3 separate regions of the Homo sapiens genome follow, and all the other regions are linked to region 1. The links are contacts of gene promoters, found by promoter capture Hi-C in blood cells and fetal thymus (Javierre and others, 2016). All regions are on one chromosome and are shown on one strand. The core of a region is centred on a gene start or on the middle of the fragment in contact, and the rest is flanking DNA. Distances in the headings are between cores, read along the strand shown.

Region 1 (4,215 bases), core at 685-3,184:
CGGTAGCTGCTACTGTCGGCTGCAGCCCCACAGCTAGCCCTTCAAACACTGAGTGAAAGGAGAGTGACAGCAAGAGGACAAGGGCTCGGAGGGGACCCTTTGAGGGTGAGGGTAAATGTCCATGGCTGTGGAGTTCGAAGATATGAGCCCCACCCCATTCTTCGTCCTGCACTGTCGATCCTCCAGCAGCCCCAGGACAGCACTGCAATGCCAGCGACTCCAAAAAGAAGACAAAAAAGAAGCCCAGGGAGATGATGAGCTCTCCATAGGGATACTCCATCTAGAAACAAAAAGAAGGGCTGTGAGATGGAAAGGAAGGGTAGGCAATACATTGGATGGACATGGAATTGGGAGATTGAAGAGAATGAGAAAATGTGGTAACAGAACACAAAAAAGGGTAGGGGAAATGAAGCCAAGAGTAGACATGGCCATGCAACAACAAGAATGCCAGAGTGGGCCGGACACAGTGGCTCATGCCTGTAATCCTAGCACTTTGGGAGACTGAAGTGGGCAGATCACTTGAGGTCAGGAGATTGAGACCAGCCTGGCCAACATGATGAAACCCCGTCTCTACTAAAAATACAAAAACTAGCCAGGTGTGGTGGCACGTGCCTGTAATCCCAGCTACTCAGGAGGCTGAGGCAGGAAAATCACTAGAACTCGGAAGGCAGAGGTTGCAGTGAGCCGAGATTGTGCCACTGTACTCCAGTCTGGGCGACAGAGAGATTTCATCTCAACAAACAAACGAAAAACAACAACAACAAAAGACTGCCAGAGGGGCTAAGGGACAGAATCTCAATAGAGTTAAAAACATGGGCAAATGATGTGAGGTATATCAGAGGATCCAGGGAAAGAATGAAAGAGTAAAACAAGGGCTTTCCCTGGCATTCTATAAACTCAAAAGGATTGGATTTGCTCCTCTTTTCCTCTACGATGTCTGAGCTAGGGAGCAGAAGGGATTCTTGGTACTCCTCATGTATTCCTCTCAAAAGGGTCTGGATATGAAAGGCCTCTCTGGTTCTCCTCACTCTCCAGATAGGGGATGGTGGGAGGTACTTACATGAGCTGAATCAGCATCACCAGAAGAATTTCTCTCACTTGCTGATCTGTTCTAAGAAGAAAGCAGCAGAAATTAGATGTGGGATGGAGCAGCACAGCTTCCTGTGCTGTCCCTTCAGCAATTCTGTTTTCCTTAAAGCCTAATCTGACTTGCTTTCACCATCCCACACAAGAGCTGTCATTTTCCTTGTCGTTCCACCCATGTCCTTGGCTCCATCACTTTCCCGCTCTCTTCCCTTTGTCCTGTTTATCATTTTGGCCTCATAGACCTGCGGCTTGAAATCTCTGCTCTCACCTGCACCATGAACTTCTGAATCTGTGATTCAATTTCCTCCAGGGCTTCAGCAGTCATATGCATGAACCCTGCTCCCAGGAAAACACCAGCAGAAATACAGCCCAGGAGTCTGAGGACTAGCCGGTGATGACCTAATAAAAAGCAGAAGTTACAACCCACTTGACACTGAGGAGACAGACAAAGGTGAGTAAAGAGCAGCAGGCAGCACTCAATATCCCAAGGTTGGGGATGGTGAGAGAATCAGAGCAAGGTATCAGGACAGGGTTGAGGTGAGACTCAGGCTATGGAACAAAGATGGGGTAGGGCTATACCTCTGGCTGCATCAATCTGGAACCATTTGAAGCAGATGGGAGTAAGGCCACAGCCCAGAGTGAGAGCCAACAGGGCAAACAGGCAGCCAAGTTTTATTCCTAGTAGTTGCTCCATCTCTGGGGTGTAGGGTAAGCCCAGGAGTCAGAATGACAAGGGAGCTGTAATCTTTGGAGCAGGAGTGGTATCTTAGGTGGTCAACACTGGAGTGTCCACTCTCGTGAGTTTCAGGAGGCTGTTGGTATCTTCTTTCTGTGTTGCTTCTGCTTCTGCAGCATTGCAGAGCTGACAGATCCTGCCCCAGCTTCTAGCCCTCCCCCTGCATGGAGGCCCCTCCCCTGGTTCACGCCTTCCTGAGCTTGGAAACCAGAAACTCCAGACTCCCTGCCAGGCACAGCCCAGTGGCGTCTTCTCCTCCTCTTCAATGGCATGACTAATCCAAGAGCTACGGATAGTCTTAGTTCATGTGCTTGGGGTTGGTCTAATCCAAAATAGGAAAGTCTATGGTAGCTGCTTCCCAGCTATTTTGTACTGGGGACAATCTGGTCCTGTCTCACTCAGGACGTTTGATCTAAGCCTTCCATACCCTCTCCACCTCATCCCAAGTCTTATAGGTTGCAATGCTGATACTTGAACCACCCGCTTTCAGAGATTTGGGGCCACCTGGAGGTAAAGAGGTGGGGCTGAGAGGTGGTGCTGGTGCTACTCTGTGGGAACTAGTACCCACATGAGGGAACTACCCTTTCCTGTAACCCCAGAAAAATAGCTCCAGGCATGGAAATGTCTAGTGGTAAGTTGATTTGTTTTTTTTCTTTCTCTTTTGATTGGGATCAGTTTTGAGAGGAATGAGTTGAGATGTCTGGTATTACAACATTTATACTGTTACAACTTCTAACTGTGCCTGTTTCCTGGTAAGAACTGTGGAAAAAAAGACATTTAAGGTTTAAGACAAAGGAAGCTGCTCTAGCCCTGAAACAGCAAGGCTTAGGGGAAAACAGAAATGAACTGAGTGAATGGGAGGATTCTACCTGGATATAGAGAGGTGGGGGTAGAAGATTCAGTTCTGATGGGAATCACTCTTGATGGAAATGTCTGGGGCATTTCCCATACATACTCTAGGGTAGCTGAGGGACCCTGGGAAAGACAGAAGGGAAGGCGTTAGTACAAGAGGCCAGGCAGCTGCTGATTCCCCTATTCAGGTGGCCCACATAACAACCCTGAGACCTGTTGAGCCAGTTCTCAGAGCTCTGGAGGCAGCTTTCCTTGCTACTCCAGATTATTTTCCTAGGGAAGTCCTGGCCTCTGGTAGAAGCAGTATTCTTACAGTGTTACTGGATGATTCTTACAGTGTTACTGGTCCTGCTGCTTGTTCTTGTGGTCCGGTAATGAGATGCAGACAGACAGACTGGGAAAGACGGGAGTTTATTTCTGCAACTGATTACAGGGAGGTCGGAGTAGCACACCAGACCAACTCAAAGTTACAAGCTTTTCTTTAGCTTTTATATACAATTCAAGCTCTATGACTACCTGCGGGAATGTTTCCTAATTAATCTAAACTAGGGGTCTGCAGGTAGAAGTTTTTTTTTTGTTTTTTAGAAACAAAGCAATAAACGATTTGATTTAGAAATAAAACCATTCCCATTATTGCAGCATTATCATCAGTCACTGATTGCTAATGCTGTTTACGCTTCTTTTTCCCTGGGATGTCTGAACCTGGCAACTTTTCTTCCTGTTCTTCTATTTTCTTAGCAAACCCACATCAAGGGTGTCTGTTCGCGTTTGAAATTCATCGGCACCAGAAAGAGCTAACATGTTGGCAGTATCTAGAAAACCATCAACATGAGCATGGGACAGTTCGCTTTGCAGCTGATCCCACCATAGTGAGTGAGTACTTGCAGACAGAAGTTTCTTAATCTTAAGTTGGTCCTGGGATGGGTTGTATGTGCAGGAATGCTTTTATCACTCAGCTAGATCTGAGGTAGAGAAAGTATAGGTGGGGCTTTAAAGGGCTTGCTTTTTTTGTATTCTGGCTTTCGTACTCAGGCACCAGTTTCCCCCGATTCCTTATCCATTTTTCTTGCTTCTGCTTTAATGTTTAACTTGTACATTCATCATTATAGCAAAGGGCTTATGGAAATCTGGTTTTTCTACTTCTGCTTTAATGATCAGCTTACACATTCATCATTACAGCGAAGAGCTTATGGAGCTCTGAACTGCCACAATAGGAGAGGGCGAGCTTGAGATTTGTGTGGGAAGCCTGGCACCAAAAATCTGAGGAAGCTCTTCATTACAGGATAGGCCAGGATAATTAACTATACCTTTTACATGTTTTTTTTTTTTTTTTTTTTTTAAGGGAGGACGTCTTGCTCTGTTACCTATGCTGAAGTGCAGTGTTACAATCAAAGTTCACTGTAGCCTTAACACCTGGGCTCAAGTGATCCTCTTGCCTCAGCTTCCTGAGTGGCTGGAAATGCAGACACATGCCACCGTGCCCAGCTTCTACACTTTTTAAGAATCACAAAATCCACTTCCATTCTTCAAAAATTTATTAT
Region 2 (3,553 bases), core at 687-3,186, 530 kb after region 1:
GTCCCCGTTACTCAGGAGGCTGAGGTGGGAGGATTGTTTGAGCCCAGGCAGTCAGAACTGTAGTGAGCTAGAGATGGTGCCACTGCACTCCAACCTTGGCAACAGAGCAAGGCCCCACCTAAAACAAATCCAAAGAAGCAGCTAAATTATCTTCTGTATTGCCTAAAATAAATACACATTTCTTAAAATTACCAATACAATCCTTCATTTCTATATTTGTGGCAATTTTGAACTCAATCCTAATGATAGAGTTCCATCTTCCAGCTAGAGGTACAGAAGGTGGCTATAGTGAATTTTTTAGAATTCTTAGAAACAGTCATCACATTGGCCAGGCACAGTGCGTCGCGCCTGTAATGCCAGCACTTTAGGAGGCCAAGATGGGCGGATTACCTGAGGTCGCGAGTTCAAGGACCAGCCTGGCCAACATGGTGAAACCTTGTCTCTACTAAAAATACAAAAATTAACCGGGCGTGGTGGCACACGTCTGTAATCCCAGCTACTCGGAAGGCTGAGGCATGAGAATTGCTTGAACCCGGGAGGCGGAGGTTGCAGTGAGCCGAGATCATGCCACTGCACTCCAGCCTGGGCAACACAGCGACATTCCGTCTCAAAAAACAGTCATCAAATCATGGATAGATCATTCATTAGCACTGCAGCTGTTAACCCCTTGGTGCTTCGTAGGGAGATTTGATGCTACACCAAATCTCACCAGTTTGTATTTCAATAAGTCAGTTTAATTCACCCTTCCCTGAAATCAGATCCTCTCAGTCCAATGAGGCCTGTTATTTCCTACTCCTTCCCCTTCCCATTTTGCTAAACCCCTCCCTCTTCAAGCTTCCAGCCAAATTCCCCTTCTCACCAACAGCGTCTGCTCCCAGCTTCTGCAGCACACGACATTCTGCCACAGTCTCAAAGCTGGGGCCTGCCACCATCACATAGGTGCCTTCCTGTAGCTCACGTTGCTCCCCCATTTGTTTCCAGGTACTGAGAGCCCTCTGCCTCATAGTCCGGTCGTAGGCATCAGACATGGCAGGGAAACGATCTCCAAACCTAGGACACAGGTTGAATTATCTCACATAAACGGAATTTTAAAAATTCTCCCACAGCTCCTAGAGAAGTCTTTAAATCCTACCCACCTAAAAAAAACGGAGTAACATACATACCTTTCATCATTGGGCCCTCTGAGAGGGTTCTGACCACTGAAACCAGGTAGGTTGATATGGTCACGGATCAGCATGATATCTCCAACCTCAAACTTGGGGTTCAGCCCTCCTGCTGCATTGGTGACTACCAGGGTGTCCACACCCAGAAGGTGGAAAACCCTCACTGGGAATGTCACCTTCGAAGCAAACAATCCGAAAAAAATTTACAAAATTTCATTAATTCAGCTACACTGAAATGCATGACATACATCGTGAAAGAAAAGGAAGGAGAGGACCAAAAATCCACCTAGCCCAGATAGCTAGGTAGTGAAAGAGGCTAGATAGTTCTCTCCTGCCTCTTCCAGATCCAACCGGACCTATCCCTCTGACTTACCTTCCAGAGTGGGTACCCTTCATACATGTGGAACCTGCCCTGCATCATCACACAGGCCCTGCCATTCAGGAACCCAAACACCAGTCGGCCAGCATGACCTGGCACTGTATACAAAACAGAAAGAGAAATGAATGGGATTATATTTTCATGCAACACATATCCATTAAGCACCTACTGTGAGTTACTCGCTCTGCTCAAAATGTTAGGTTGTAATTAAGTAAAAGACTCATTATTATCTCTGCTTTCAGAAAGTTTAAGTCTGGTGAGAGAGCCAGGCATTACTAATAATTATACAAATACAACCCAAGATTAGAGATATGGGGTGCGTTCAGCATGTTCAGCATGAACACACAAAGAAGGAAGGGCTTTTTAAAGAAATTTCAAGATAATACAAGCCATACTGCCAGAGAGTAAAAAGTGAGCAAAAAAAGTAGATACTCAGAAATGGAAGATTAAATACTACATGTTCTCACTTATAAGTGGGAACCAAATGTGTACATATGGACCTACAGAGTGAAATAATAGACACTGGGGACTCGGAAAGGTGAGAAAGTGGGATGGGGATGAGGGATGAGAAATTACCTAATAAGTACAATGTTCACTGCTCAGGTGATGGTTACACTAAAGCACAGACGTCACCACCACGCAGTATATCCATATAACAAAACTGCATTGTACCCCTGTAAATCTATAAAAATTAAAATTAAAAATAGGCCAGGTGCGGTGTCTCACACCTGTAGTCCCAGCACTTCGGGAGCCCAAGACAGGCGGATCAACAGGCCAGGAGTTCAAGACCACCCTGGCCAACATGGTGAAACCTCATCTCTACTAAAAATACAAAAATTAGCCAGGTGTGGTGGCACATGCCTGTAATCCCAGCTACTCGGGAGGCTGAGGTGGGAGAATCTCTTGAACTTGGGAGGTGGAGGTTGCAGTGAGCCGAGATCACAACACTACACTCGAGCCTGGGTGACAGAGCGAGACTCTGTTTCAAAATAAAGTGAGTACAGTGAATGCAGTAATTATAGACCTCTTCAAATTTTTCAAAGTTCTCAAAACATGTATTCTTATCTATTGCCCTAACTTAATTACCTGCCTCCTCAGTCCAGCAAGCAAGCTCATAGTATACTTACTCTGGCTTCTTAAAGAAGAGGCTACTGAACAAGGGGGAAAGAATTTGAACGCATGCAAGTGTCTCTTTCCTTATGACCCACGGAACAGTCCTATGGGAACACATGCCCACGGAGGGGTGCGTGGGAGTGCAAAGATAACTCCCCACAGACATAACAGCCATTATTACCATTTCTTTTATCTGGCAGTCACTTCTAATAGACGGCCAACCTATCCCTTAGGGAATGGGAGAGGGACTAGAACCAAGAGGAAGAGCTGAGAAATTCTCAAAGATAGAGGAGCTTATGCAAAAAAACAAAACAAAAACAGTAATAAAGTTGACAAAGGAAACCCAAGTGGAGTATAAAAAATAAACATGTTGATAAGCTTAAAAAAACTAACCCACTTATCATTTAATGCAGTGCCCTTCTCACTGGGGGTAGGAGTGGCCAGTGGAGCCAGCGTCACTACTATCTCCCTTAGAGAAGTATGCCCTTCACACACCCTCTGTTAATATTTCCCTCACCTTCTCCCTCTGCTCTTCCAGTCTTGTGTTAAAGAGTTTAAAAAAATAGCTATTAAAGGTCTTTTCCTGCTGACAGGTCTTAAAAAAAAATTCTTAACTCTCCAGGGAAAAGAAGATAGAAATCTTAAAAATTAATAAATAAACCAACAGAAGTTAGTTATTTGAGAAATTACGTAAACCAAATAAACAACCCTTGCCCTTTACTTGGCCCCTGTCACCTGGCCCTCTTCTGAGTCTTAGCCTCAGTCCACTGACACACACATGTCCTGTCTCTTATGGGATGTCTGCTAGAGGCATCTCCTAAAGTCACTCTGACTCATGGTGGGCTTTTCTCCTCTCTTACAACATTTGTCTTCAGTGAAATGCTAGGTCAAGGAGTAG
Region 3 (4,878 bases), core at 1,331-3,830, 640 kb after region 1:
AATTGTTTTCTTAATTTTTCAGATTATTCTTTACTAGTGTGTAGAAATAGAAATACAATTCATAGGCCAGGCGTGGTGGCTCACACCTGTAATGCCAGCACTTTGGGAGGCCAAGGTGGGTGGATCACCTAAGGTCAGGAGTTCAAGACCAGCCTGGGCCCAACATGGTGAAACCCTGTCTCTACTAATAATACAAAAATTAGCCAGGCATGGTGGCACATGCCTGTAATCCCAGCTAGTTGGGAAGCCGAGGCGGGAGGCTGAAGCAGGAGAATCACTTGAACCCGGAGGCAGAGGTTGCAGTGAGCTGAGATCTCACCATTGCACTCCAGCCTGGGCAACAAGAGTAAAATGCCATCTCCAGAAAAATAAATAAAATAAAAAGAAATACAGGCTGGGTGTAGTGGCTCATGCCTGTAATCCCAGCACTTTGGGAGGCTGAGGTGGGAGGATCACAAGGTAAGGAGTTCGAGACCAGCCTGGCTAATATGGTGAAACCCTGTCTTTACTAAGAATACAAAAATTAGGCAGGCGTGGTGGTGGGCACCTGTAGCCCCAGCTCCTCGGGAGGCTGAGGCAGGAGAATCACTTGAGCCCGGGAGGTGGAGGTTGCAGTGAACCAAGATTGCGCCACTGCACTCCAGTCTGGGCAACAGAGCAAGACACTCCGTCTCAAAAAAAAAAAGAAAAAGAAAAAAAAAGAAATACAATTCATCTTGTATCCTACAATCTTGCTGAACTTTTTAGCTCTAAATATGGATTCTTTTGGGCCTTCTCTATAGATCACGTAATTTGCAAATTTAGTTTTATCTCCTTTTTAATCTTGATGCCTTTTTTTTCTTGCTTAAGTACCATGGTTAGAACCTCCAGTACAATATTGAATGGAAGTGGTGAGTGCAAACATCTTGGTCTTATTCCTGATCTTAGAGGATAAGCTTTCAATCTTTCACCATTGTAATGTTAGCTGTGAGTTTTTCATAGATGTTCTTCATAGGGTGGAGGAAGCTCCCTTTCATTCCTACTTTGTTGGATTTTATTTCATTATGAAAAAATGTTACATTTTGCCAAATGCTTTTTCTGCATCTGAGATGATCATGTGATTTTTGCCCTACCTTGGTTTTCAATCTTGCATTACTGTGATAAATCTCACTTGATCATTGTATATAGTCCATTTATAATGTTGCTGGATTAGGCTTGGTAGTATTTTGTTGATTTTTGCAATTATATTGTTAAGGGATATTGGTCTATAATTTTATTTTCTTGTGATATCTTCATCTGGTTTTGGTTTCATTCTGCTTTGTAGAATTAGTTGCAAAGTATTTTCCTCTCTTCTATTCTTTGGAAAAGTATGCAGTCTACTTCAGTTTTAATAGCAGGTTACTTCAGTGAGTAGATATATTTGACTAGTTCCTTATCTATGATCTTTTTGTGTACACCAATGCCTCAGTGACATCTATGCAAACATATATATCTGTAAGTTTTAGGTCAACAGGGCATGAACATTTCAAATTTTGATAGATATTGGAAACCTGGTTTCTAAAAAGTTACAGGAAAAATTTAAACAAACTTCTCTGTTACTTAAGGAAGTGTGTTGTTTATCTGTGTTGTGTGTTTAAATACAATCAGGAAGTCTTTGGATCTGTATTAGTCTGTTTTCATACTGCTATAAGGAACTGCCCGAGACTGGGTAATTTATAAAGGAAAGAGGTTTGACTCACAGTTCACCATGGCTGAGGAGGCCTCAGGAAATTTACAATCATAGAGGAAGGTGAAGGGGAAGCCCTTCTTCACAGGGTGGCAGGAAGGAGAAGTGCCAAGCGAAGTAGGAAGAGCCCCTTATAAAACCATCAGATCTCGTGAGAACTCACTCACTATCACAAGAACAGCATGGGGGAAACTGCCCCCATGATTCAGTTACCTCCACCTGGTCTCTCCCTTAAAATGTGGGGATTCTGGGGATTACAGTTCAAGATGAGATTTGGATGGGGACACAAAGCCTAACCATATCAGGATCTGACCTGGACTTTAGTACTTCTTAGTTGGAGCAGGTTATGTAAAAACTCATTCCACTTTTTTCCTTTCCTCCTCAAGATGTATTCAGGCTTAGTGACAGTCCTCCAAGGGCTTCCCAAATTTTTGGACATGTGATGAGTCCTAGGATGTTGAGTAGTGGGAGACCTAGGCTGCAGTGGATAAATTTGAAAAAGGCAAGTGAATACATATGCATGGGAAAGAAAAACACGACTTAGCCTTTGTTGCCTCTACCCTTCCTGTGATAATACTCAACAAATTCCAGTTTGCAGAAAAATTGAATTAAACAGGTAAAAGCATTAGCGCCCCCATTAGTGTCCCTCAATGCACAGATGCCACTAAGAACAGGATACTGAATAACCCTCAGAGCAATGAGTAATTTCTGTCCTGGAAATGGAGATCTACTAATGTCAGAAGAAATATGTTCTTGGAGAAATAAAGCCCGAAGAAGCCAGTGGTAGACCTGTACAGTTTTTATTACATAAAATATCACAAAATTCACAAGTACAACACTGCTTATTTTCTTGCTTGAAGATCAGATCTCTGGTTTATTTAATATCAACATTCACCACAGCTGAAGGAAATTAAACTGAACCTTTAAAAGGTACCGCATACGGACCTGGTTGGGGTTATATACAATATATTCATTGTAGTTGAGGGTATAACCATCTGGATTCAGAATTCCTGTGTCACTTGCTGGTCCTAATGGCACTGTACTCCCATTCCTGCCAAATGGAAAAAAAGTGTGTCAACATCAGTCTCTGGTTCAGAAGCTGCAATAGAGAACGTAGTCTTATCTGGCCAAAAGGAGTCTTCTAGTCCTCCTGGTTCTGAGTACTTACAGGGTGACGAAGTGGGCAGAACTGGGAGCCATCTTGCCCAGCCCCTTGGTGCTATGTTTACCTTGAAGCAATCCTTCGGCCTTAGGATTGGCCTCTAGTAGTTCATTACACTGACCTAGAGCTACCTGCAAAGCAAAAAACCTTTGAATTCCCATATCCTACTAAGAATTAGATGGCTCCAAAGCCAAACAGAAAATCCCATCAGTACTTTTTTCCCCTACTCCAGCAGAGGAATCCAATGTACTAGAAATTGTACTTGGTCCTCTCTCAAGCTATCCCAGGTAAACCTCTTGGTTCTGGGGTCAAACTTTTCTCATCGGAAAAAAACTGGAATTAATAAACTAGAGATCACAGACATACTCCTGTCTCACCTCTGATAAGAGCAGCAGTCCTGTATTCTTTAGGCGAGAGGCAAAGCAGTAATTGGCACTCTTGGAAGACATGTCAGCAAAGTAGATTCCTTTCCCAAACTGAAATATATACATGAATACCAAGGTCAGCTTCTAACCCACTGTGTTAGAGAGAAGGTGCATACCACTGACCCTGTTTTTCCATTCCCTTAAACACAATATAGACCCTTCTCCATTTCCCCTCACAATTCTGTTCTAGAGAGGGTAGAAGCCCCTGTGAATTTCCGCCTTCTGAGGGAAAGGTGAGGTATCTTTAGGAATTTAAAGAAAGAGGGACACAGTAAGAGATGACAAGGTTATCAGTGAGCTGGCTTAACTCTTGGGGAGGGGAACCATCTAATCCTAATCTAGGAAAAAAAGCACTGAGAACATTACTGTATCCCTTTCCCCTGTGCTCCTCCCAGAGTTCAATTTCACTCACCATGTAACCTGTGATGGGAGCTTCAGGTGGGGCAATTCGAAGCCCATGGCTCAAGATTCCCACCCAGTTACTCATCCTGGAACCATGCCATAGAAGCATCCTAAGGAAAAGCCAATATTATTGTACTCTGTTGTTCTGCACAGATAGGCCATAAGCATAAAAAAGCCAACACCTTCCTCTGACTCCCTCTTATAAGTTCTACAGCTGTACTTTCGGGCAAGGAGTGTCTTTCCAAACGCAAAGCTAGACTCAGACCTGTTATGAAGGTCCTCTCTGAAGGCTTCTTTCTCACCATCCTTCTCCACTTCAAACAAATCCAGCAAGGTCATGGTATAGTCGCTGTGTGTGGGAGCATGGGTAGATTGTAGGTACTGGGAAATCACCTGTGAAAAATAAGACAAAAAGGCTGATGTAGACTCTACAAGAGACTGAGCTGAACTGAAGAATTTGGGGATTCTGATATAACTTGGCAGACCTTTCTGCTCCCAAACAGTCTTACAAGGCAGCTAGGAAAAGCTTGGCCTTCCCAAATCCCTAGTACATAAAAAGTCTGCCCTAATTGACAATTTGCTCTTGACAAGAAGTAGTTAGAGAACAGTGGGATGGGGGAGGTGGTTAAGGGTGCAAGAATATGAAAATAAATGATCATTTTTCTTACTTTGAACTCATAACTTTCATGGTCAAGGGGGCGCAAGGCACAATGTAGGTTTCTATAGTGTTGGTCCAATGGGTGTTCTGGGCTTTGTAGCTCTGTTTTCACCAGCTTAATAGCAATTTCAATGTCTCCCAAAGCCTGAGAAGATGAGATATAGAATCAATGTGGGAGGACACTGGTATAAGGGATATAATACTTCTCAAATCATACATATCTCACCTCTAGTAATTGTATTTTTTCTGACAGTTCCTTCTGTGTCCGGATTAGTGGAGGAGTACGGAGTCTAAGAACAGAGATATAACCCATAATGAGCTTTCTGACATGTGGCTAAAAGGCGCATGACTAAAAATAGAAAATGACAGATAGGTCCTTTAGAAAACAGGTATGAGAAACAGGTTTTCCATTTGAGAGAGAAAGAGATCTGTAAAGAGATCTTAACTTCCAAATATATAAAATAATATTAAATATATACTCGGTATAAGATGAACTATGTGGATTTTGACTTTTGAGACTAGAGTT

Evidence for each region. Contacts are between HindIII fragments. The CHiCAGO score rates a contact against its expected background, and 5 or more counts as called.
Region 2: a contact is called between a fragment that was not itself captured here and the fragment with the promoter of SLC39A2 in region 1, in 1 of 17 cell types (monocytes). The highest score is 5.1, in monocytes.
Region 3: a contact is called between a fragment that was not itself captured here and the fragment with the promoter of SLC39A2 in region 1, in 1 of 17 cell types (monocytes). The highest score is 5.9, in monocytes.

Annotation. Positions count from the first base shown.
Region 1 is chr14:20,997,012-21,001,226 of GRCh38, reverse strand. It overlaps SLC39A2 (solute carrier family 39 member 2), which reads right to left and starts at 1,934. Exons shown (of 4, transcript NM_014579.4): 1 at 1,666-1,934; 2 at 1,355-1,485; 3 at 1,061-1,111; 4 at 1-280. The coding sequence starts at 1,780. It overlaps LOC101929718 (a long non-coding RNA gene), which reads left to right and starts at 2,064. Exons shown (of 4, transcript NR_110139.1): 1 at 2,064-2,453; 2 at 3,413-3,547; 3 at 4,017-4,215. METTL17 (methyltransferase like 17) reads right to left here. Exons shown (of 14, transcript NM_022734.3): 14 at 4,192-4,215. RefSeq lists enhancers at 676-1,875, 3,899-4,215. The HindIII fragment of the contact is 5,548 bases long and covers 1-3,150 here.
Region 2 is chr14:20,472,559-20,476,111 of GRCh38, reverse strand. It overlaps PNP (purine nucleoside phosphorylase), which reads right to left. Exons shown (of 6, transcript NM_000270.4): 3 at 1,537-1,640; 4 at 1,164-1,339; 5 at 860-1,050. Among named protein-coding and RNA genes, the nearest start is that of PNP, 4.9 kb to the right of the region's middle. The HindIII fragment of the contact is 2,199 bases long and covers 837-3,035 here.
Region 3 is chr14:20,355,516-20,360,393 of GRCh38, reverse strand. PARP2 (poly(ADP-ribose) polymerase 2) reads right to left here. Exons shown (of 16, transcript NM_001042618.2): 10 at 4,579-4,642; 11 at 4,363-4,497; 12 at 3,960-4,087; 13 at 3,705-3,804; 14 at 3,245-3,343; 15 at 2,874-2,998; 16 at 2,490-2,756. The coding sequence ends at 2,597. Among named protein-coding and RNA genes, the nearest start is that of PARP2, 14 kb to the right of the region's middle. The HindIII fragment of the contact is 3,285 bases long and covers 938-4,222 here.